Linked DNA regions of Homo sapiens: regions 1 and 2 are each linked to region 3. The links are contacts of gene promoters, found by promoter capture Hi-C in blood cells and fetal thymus (Javierre and others, 2016). All regions are on one chromosome and are shown on one strand. Each heading gives the region's core, a stretch centred on a gene start or on the middle of the fragment in contact. The rest is flanking DNA. Distances are from core to core; before and after follow the strand shown.

Region 1 (2,700 bases), core at 182-2,681, 300 kb before region 3:
GGAAAGGTTTGCGAGAGAGGGGAGAAGTGGGAGGTTGGTTAAAGGGAAAGGAAGCATAAACTAGCTCAAGGAAAAGATAGTTCAGGGCAGAAATTACATTTTTAAATGGGTTTAGCTGATCCCAGCCTTGCTAAGACAGGTAGTCCCAACTCTCCTGTTTATACCGAAGTTTTACTGGAGCCAATTATGTCCTGGATTAGTCATTTCAGAGAAGGTGTGTGTCTCAAGGGGCCCTGGAAAGAGTCAGCTTGTACTAGTGACAGTCTTCTTAATATTGTGCCTGTACTCTTCCCACTTGTCAAACTTGTTCTTAAAACAACTGTGCATCAGTGACTGTCAATGACTTGTCTGCAGAGCTTTTTACGGGGCAGTGGTTCTCACACCTGCCTCCACAGTAAAATCACCCAGGGAGCTTTTAACACATACTACTGCCTGGGGCCCCAGAACAAGTATATCAGAATCTCTAGGGATGAGCCCTCTAGAATCCATACAATCAATTTTCTTTTCTTTTCTTTTTTATTTTACTTTAAGTTCCGGGATACATGTGCAGAACGTGCAGGTTTGTTACATAAGTATACATGTGTCATGGTGGTTTGCTGCACCTATCATCTAGGTTTTAAGCCCCGCATGCATCAGCTATTTGTCTTAATGCTCTCCTTCCCCTTCCCCCACCAATAGGCCTCAGTGTGTGTGTTCCCTTCCCTGTGTCCATGTGTTCTCATTGTTCAACTCTTACTTGTGAGTGAGAACACGCGGTGTTTGGTTTTCTATTCCTGTGTTAGTTTGCCGAGGATGATGGCTTCCAGCTTCATTCATGTCCCTGCAAAGGACATGATCTCATTCCTTTCTATGGCTGCATGGTATTCCATGGTGTATATGTACCACATTTACTTTATCCAGTCTATCATTGATGGACATTTGGGTTGGTTCCATGTCTTTGCTATTATAAGTAGTGCTGCAATAAACATATGTGTGCATGTGTCTTTATAGCAGAATGATTTGTATTTTTTTGGGTATATACCTAGTAATGGGATTGCTGGGTCAAATGGTATTTCTGGTTCTAGATCCTTGAGGAATTGCCACACTGTCTTTCACAATGGCTGCGGAGAAATAGGAATGCTGTCACACTGTTGGTGGCAATAAATTTTCTGAAAAGCTTCCTTGGTCATTCTAATGAGTGAAGAACCTTGACCTTGGACCTTTGCTACCCAGTATGTGGTCCACCAGCCAGCAGCGTCTGTATCACCTGGGAGCTTGATTGAAATGCAGAATTTCAGGCCCCACTCTTGATCTACCTACTGAATCAGAACATGCACTTTTAGTACATCCCCCTCCTCAGGTGATTCCCATGAACATTAAAGTCTGAGAATCCCTGCCTTAAAACAAATCTGGTGCCTGGGTTCCACCTCCAGAGATTCTGATTGTATTTATCTGAGCTGTGACTTGGGAATTGGGAGTTTTAGAAGATTCCTGGGTGTCTCTAATTTTCAGCAGTTTAATGTCCCTGCCTTACAGCAAAGAACCGGGGAAGGTGCTTGGTGCATTTTTATTCAACGGGGTTGACCAACCCTATCTTTGTTTAATGATTTCTGACCTTTGGTTTAATTTACCAATGAACTACATTTGCTTCTCATTTGGGGGAAAAACTGCCTGTCTTAAACTCGTGGCAGGAACATCATTTCTCCTCATCTTCAAAGATGCTGCTGGGAAGCTTAGTAACTGATTAGACAGGAAATACTGCACAGCCTAAGGCCTATTGCATAAGGACCAGTTCATTTATTAAAGAAAAGAAAATGTTGCTTATTTTTAGTGTAAATCATTACAAAATGCCAACCAACTCCTTATAAATTTGAGAAGAGCAATCTTCCTGATTAGTTATTTCTTTCACCTTTTCTAAGACCTTGTATGAAATGATATTTAAAGCACTCTTCAGCTTTCTTTAAGCCAGCTGATTGCACAAGTCAAACAACAGCCGTGAGTGTGTTGAACTGTTGGATTACTACTATTATAGGAATGGACACATAACAAGTGTTACTTTAGACCTGAGTTTCCAAAGTATAATCCTAGCTTAAAAGGGAATTTTTTAAAAGAAAGAAAACAGGAAACTGTATTGTATTGGGAGGAGGCTGGAGGGGAGATGAAAAAAATCATTTGGATTTTGTGTGTGTGGGTAAGTGGGGGGTAGCTGTCTATAACTTTCATTAAGTGTTTTTTTTTCTTCTCTTTATAAAGTAAGCTGCAGGCTTTGGGTTGGCAAACCCCAGGGGGATGCAGAAATCTGAGGCTGCTACCTTTTTATCTGCCTTCACGGTACTGTCCTCTTCCCCCAGCTCCTCCCTGACCCTATGGACCAGGCCTCAGACTTTCCAGCTAACTGCTTCCTGTGAGCCACTACTCTGATATCAGCCTATAACCAAAGGAGCTGGGGGGTCCAGGCTTGGTGACCAACCCTTCTCAGCCCACTCAATCAGGGTGCTTCCCACCTGCAGGCAGGAGGCAACACCCTGTCTGCTACCATCCTCCCCTTCCAGAGCCCACCTGCCTGCCCAGCCCTGCCCTGCCCTGCCCAGTCGAGCCATACCTTGCTTTGTCCCACCTGGGGGTGCCCTGCTCAGGGATGGGCTGGCAGGGCTGCACTCAGCTTCTCTGGTAAGCAGAGATTCAAGAAACCTCTGGGGTCTTGTTTTCTGGTCGTGTGAT
Region 2 (2,700 bases), core at 32-2,531, 350 kb before region 3:
AAATTTGGGTCCACAAGGGCTTGCTTAAGAGTTAATTTCCAATTGCAGTTGTGCAAACATGATTCTCAGACTTCTTCATTTTAGCTAATTCATGTGGGAGGTCACAAGCATGGTTCTCTGCCTGGGACATCTGGTCCTAAATGGTGTATTATCTCTGGAATTATGACATTTCTCATCGTGGAGTGTTTTCATGTTTAGTTCCAAGGTGGTGATTTAATCTGAGGAGCAGCTGAGAACTAGGTCTTAGACAGTTGCCCCTGAATGTACCCGTCACAGGGCTGAACTGTCTCAAATTTCATCTCAGAAAAATGATCAAACATACAAAGAAAACCAAAACAAGCAGACAGAAAACACTGTGAGCCTGATATCTAAAAGGAATAAACAGAAAATTAAATCTTTACAGAAGCGTCTGCTAAAACGCCGAAAAGGATTCTAACCAAAACTTACAGCAAAACTAAAAAATCCTTTTTCCCTACAAATACCTGTGATAGCATTGTAGTTGCCTCTCCCACCATTGATCTTGTTCCTCATTGTCTCCAAAGAATCTCAAACTCTCTAAAAGCCCACCATACGTGCCTTTTTCTCTCCCTTCCTGACCCCCAACCCACGCTTTTCCGGGTGGTGCCTCCAGGTCTCTGCTCCATGCATTTCTCTGATCCACACAACCAAAGGCCAGGCCTGTTTGAACAGCAAAGATTTTTTTTTTTTTTTAGAAACAATAGAAGGAGGCTATAATCATTCAGAAATTAATTTTTCATTCTAATCCTGCTGTAAGAGTTGTGTTTCATCATAGTGAACTTTCTCCTATGTTACAGAATGTAGAACTATCTCAATGGGGCAAGGACAAGAAGTACATGCTCGAAAGCTGATTCAGATGTCAATGCAGCAGGTATGTGACAAGAGACTGCTCCTGCTGCAACATTATTGCTAGAAACCCCACAATCATGGATGTTACCACATTCTTCTCGTGATGCTCAATCCTGGTTTTTCCATTTTTGTTTATCATTACCTGTGAATTTTAAACCTCAGTCTAGTTTCCTCCTGATATTCGCATGGAAAGCTTATTCCATTTTCTATAGTATATGCTCCATTTTACCTTCACCAATTTTTTGTTCGTTTTATGATTTGGGAGACACACCTTCTGATTTCTAAGAATGCATCTCTAGCAGTCTTGGAATTTCATGATCAATATGAATAGGTAGTACTTAAGGAGTGACAGATTGAGACAGTTAAATTTCCATTTTCAGTTAAAGGCAGACTTTCATTTTTCATTAACGGATCATTTCAGGCAAAGAAGGAATATTTAAGGATGCTATGTTTAAATACTGATAATGGTTTTCACTAATAATTGCAAGCTGAATGGAGTGTTGAGAGAGATTTCCCATCACACCTAATAAATACACAGGACATTAATTTTCTAGAAATGCTCTGTAGATAGCCATTTCAGCTGTAATAAGAAATTATACCATTTATAAAAATAAAATAAGATATTGGTTTATTTTTAAGCTTTTGATCTCAGAATGTCTGTACAAACTTTGGTGCAGCTTTTCCCTGGGAATTAATGACTAGAGAGGGTTAATGGGCTAAAACTCTGTTGGGTCATCAACTTTTCCAGCTAGTCATTAATTCTCAAATGCCCTAAGCCTCAATCTTTATCACTTAATTAAATTCAATAATTTATTTAATTTATACATGTATATCTCAAAGCAATTATACATAATTATTTTTACTCGGATCAAATGTTTCACTCTATTGAGTGATTTGACAGTTTAACTTTGGGCCTTAAATAATTTCTTTAGTTTCTGTGGGTGCAAAACTTTAATTTAAATACGGTGTTCATGTTAACTGTCTTTGGAATACTAGCCTTTATAACTTCCATGGTCTGTTTGTCAAAGTGGGGTAAGTATTGATTATATGGCATAATCAGAAAAGAAAACCAGACATGAGCAGGTGCAGCCATGTTGCCGCCTTGAGGGACACCATGTTTAGCATAAAGCTGGCATTGTGGAACACAGAGTGGGGAACCAGAAAGTAAGTGGGTCCATGATGACACAAACTAATCCTGAATGCTGTTTTCCTCTGAAACCCCAGTTGTATAGACGGCACATCCCCTTTACTAGTTAAGCCGGTGTGAGTTGTATTTTCGCTTACAGTTGAGACATGGTATATATGCCTTGCCATATATTTATCATGCTCACTATTTTGTAGTTTTATGTAGTTCAAGATAGCTGATTCCTGTATAAAGGTATTAAAATGTCTAGTAAAGAAACTATGTTCTCACAGGGCAGTGATGGTTTTGTGACATATTGTTTAAGGTAGTTTGTTTAATCAAGTATTTATTTAGAAAGTGCTTAATAAGTTATGTGGTTTCAGGAAAGTGTGGAGAGTGATGATAAAGAATAAAGCTTAGCATTATGGTAGTAAATGTCACCAAACGTATTGTCTCCAGCTTTCATGAGATCATGTGTATCTTTCTTTGTAACTATGAATAACTGTGAACCAGTCTTCTGGGTTTTGGGGGTGAGTCAGTTCTGATTTACCTTAGGCAGGACAACTTGTTACTGATTCCAAAATACCCGTTCCCACCATTAGATGGTGCACACACTGTACTTACACAAGTCTGCCTTCAAGTTTTAATTTCTGTTCCTTTCTGAACCAGGGGTGGCAGAATACAATCATTTTGAACCCACTTGATTCTAA
Region 3 (2,700 bases), core at 49-2,548:
TGGAGATAGGGATTGTAATAGGTAATTATGAGAAAACACCTGTAACACGCTCAGTGTCAGGTGATGAGTGGATCATGATTGGATTAAGCTGGTCATGACCACCCTGCTTCCCACTGTTTTAGGCACATTGTGAATGCTCAGTAAATGCCAGTTATCAAGGTGATTTGGCACTTGGTCTGTTCCTTTGCAGGGGATGTTGTCACTCGCTCCAGTGCCTATTTCAGATGCATTCACCTCCCTCCACAACACCTGGTTTTGTCTTGTTTCTGGGAAAGAGGAAACCAGAAAGGACCCAGGCAGGGGGTGACCCACTCTGTTACCAAGAGAGAGCCCCATTTGGGTGCAGTGCTGGCAAGCTCAGTCACCTTGGCCATTGCCCACCAAACCCAACTCCAGGTGCAAACAGGCCAGGAAAGGACAGCTTGGTGGTGGCTGCTCCTGGCATTTATCTGTGTCTCCCACCCGCAGCCGTCTGCCCAGGGATATGAGCTGGGAGAGGGCAGAAGGAGCTGCAGCCCTGGAGTTGGGGAAGGGGAAGTATGAAAGTGTGGGAGGAGGAAATTTGGATAGCGTTGATAACGCTGACATATAGTTCCCATTCATCCAGCAAGTGACAGCTTAGAGAGTGCTTTTAATCTGCTGTCAAATGTCTGCAGTACCGATATGGTTATTCTTGTTGCCTTATAGATGAGGCTGTTTGGGTCCAGAGAGGTTAAGTGACCTGTTCAAGGTCACACATCAATCCAGTTGTAGACCTGGGGCCAGAATCCAGGATTAGATCTCACCAGGCTCTCTGTTCCCACCACACTCTTCTTCCAAATGGGGCATCAGCTCCTGGGTGAGGACTGTGGATCTGCCACAGGAACCCCATTCCACCAACCTTCCCAAGCCTCTCCATCCCAATCCCACATCGCTCCCCTTCACCTGCACAAACTGCTCCATGGCCCACTGGTCCAGGCAGGTGTAGTTCTCCAGGAAGCGCAGCTTCTCCAACTGAAACTGGTCCCTGGACTGAGCCTCCGCCTGCCTCTCTAGCAGCTGGAAGATAGTGGCACCGAGCAGCAGGTAGCAGACATAGGCCAGCAGCAGGGGCAGCACCCGGCCACCCCAGCAGCTGCAGAGCCCAGCACTGGGCATGCTGTGGCCAGGACCCTGCCAGGGCCGTGGGGCTGGCTATGGGGGAGAGGTGGGAAACAGGTGAGGAGTAAGCACCTAGGGGCCTGTGCCCAGGCTGCCGCCTGCCCTGCCCTCCTCCTCGGCACAGGTGTCTGGAGGCTGGGGAGACTGTTTGAACAGTGCGGCTCAGCTTGGCTGCACTAAGTGCTATGCTGTGAGTGCAAACAGGCCGGCCACCCCCACCCGGCCTTTGTTTCCATGGACAGCAGCAAGTCAGTGTCAGGGACCCTTCAAAGAGACCTACCAGGTTCTCCTGAGTGCTTCATGTCTCTCTCTCTGTCTCCAAGTTGGATAGATGTTTCTGGGCTAAATCGGATAGGTGTGCTCACTCTGTCCAGGCCCCAGTGGGCTCTCTCGGCCGCCCCCAGCGTCTTCACCCTTGAAGGCTGTAAGACCCCAGCTTAGGAGCTGGGAAGAGGTCAGAATGGGTATGAATAAACCTTCTACTCAGTTGCCTTGGCTACAAAATGGGGCAGGATAATTGAACTGCCTATTGGGGGAACCTCAGGATGAGTAAACTGCGTGACAAATCAGGGCAAAGTAAATAGACAGGTGATTGTCTCACTCAGCCTGATGGTAAGAGTATCAGGGTTGATTCTGCTGATAAGTTGGATTCATTGGTTTTATAACTCTTGCTAATTTGTCTTGCATGAAGCCCTCTAGTGGGTTACCTTCAGAGGATATGTCGGTGAAATATATGTGTGAATTAAAAAGAAACTATAAGTATATCCTGATCCTGGGATGGTAAGAGGGGCTGTCTCTGAGTGGATGGAATTGAGAGTGCTTTCCTTTCTCTTTGCCTGTGTGTGTGTGTGTACACATGCTTGTTTATGTACATGTATAACAGCTTTATACAGATATAATTCACATGCTGTATCGTCCACACATTTAAAGTGTGCAATTCAGTGGGTTTTAGTATATTCACAGGGTCTTCAAGATCCAGCCCTGTTGCAACATGTAACAGTACTTCTTCCTTCTTTCTGGCTGAGTAATATTTCATTGTGTGGCTATAACACATTTGTTTATCCATTTGATTTCTAGTTGATGGACATTTGGGTTGTCCCTGTTTCCTTCTATTAAGAACAAAGCAGCTATGAACCTCTGTGTATGAGTTTTTTTTGTGGACATGTGTTTGCATTACTCACAGGTACATACCTAGGAGTAGAATTTCTGGACTATCTGGCCACTCTGTATTGAACTTTTTGAGGAACTGCCAGGCTATTTTCCAAAGTGGCTGAACCATTTTATATTCTCACTAGCCCAGGGCGAGGATTCCAATATCTCTGCTGTGTTTTCTGCTGTTTCCTTTAATGAGCTGTGGCTGCAGACACTGTGAGTTGCCTGCTGAGTATCCTTTCCCTCCTCCCCAGCTAGCAGAACCCCGGCTTTGTAAGTGTTAACCCCAGGTAATTGAGCATAATTGGTCTAAGTCATAGTGCTAATCTTGCTCCCCTCTGTCTCAGCCCCTGAGAGCAGTGAAGTCACTGAAGACCCATAAGACAGTGGGCAAGAGGGCCAGGCTGA

What was found. Contacts are between HindIII fragments. The CHiCAGO score rates a contact against its expected background, and 5 or more counts as called.
Region 1: a fragment that was not itself captured here is called in contact with the fragment with the promoter of KCNK16 in region 3 in 2 of 17 cell types (naive CD4 T cells and activated CD4 T cells); the score reaches 5.4 in naive CD4 T cells.
Region 2: a contact is called between a fragment that was not itself captured here and the fragment with the promoter of KCNK16 in region 3, in 2 of 17 cell types (naive CD4 T cells and activated CD4 T cells). The highest score is 7.6, in naive CD4 T cells.

The regions. Positions count from the first base shown.
Region 1 is chr6:39,020,011-39,022,710 of GRCh38, forward strand. The region is part of intron 91 of DNAH8 (dynein axonemal heavy chain 8); the gene reads left to right. Among named protein-coding and RNA genes, the nearest start is that of GLP1R, 27 kb to the right of the region's middle. The HindIII fragment of the contact is 555 bases long and covers 1,155-1,709 here.
Region 2 is chr6:38,970,777-38,973,476 of GRCh38, forward strand. DNAH8 (dynein axonemal heavy chain 8) reads left to right here. Exons shown (of 93, transcript NM_001206927.2): 83 at 816-889. Among named protein-coding and RNA genes, the nearest start is that of DNAH8-AS1, 19 kb to the left of the region's middle. The HindIII fragment of the contact is 446 bases long and covers 1,059-1,504 here.
Region 3 is chr6:39,321,404-39,324,103 of GRCh38, forward strand. KCNK16 (potassium two pore domain channel subfamily K member 16) reads right to left here and starts at 1,299. Exons shown (of 5, transcript NM_001135106.2): 1 at 925-1,299. The coding sequence starts at 1,137. All of the region lies in intron 1 of LOC105375047 (a long non-coding RNA gene), which reads left to right. The HindIII fragment of the contact is 9,631 bases long and covers 1-2,700 here.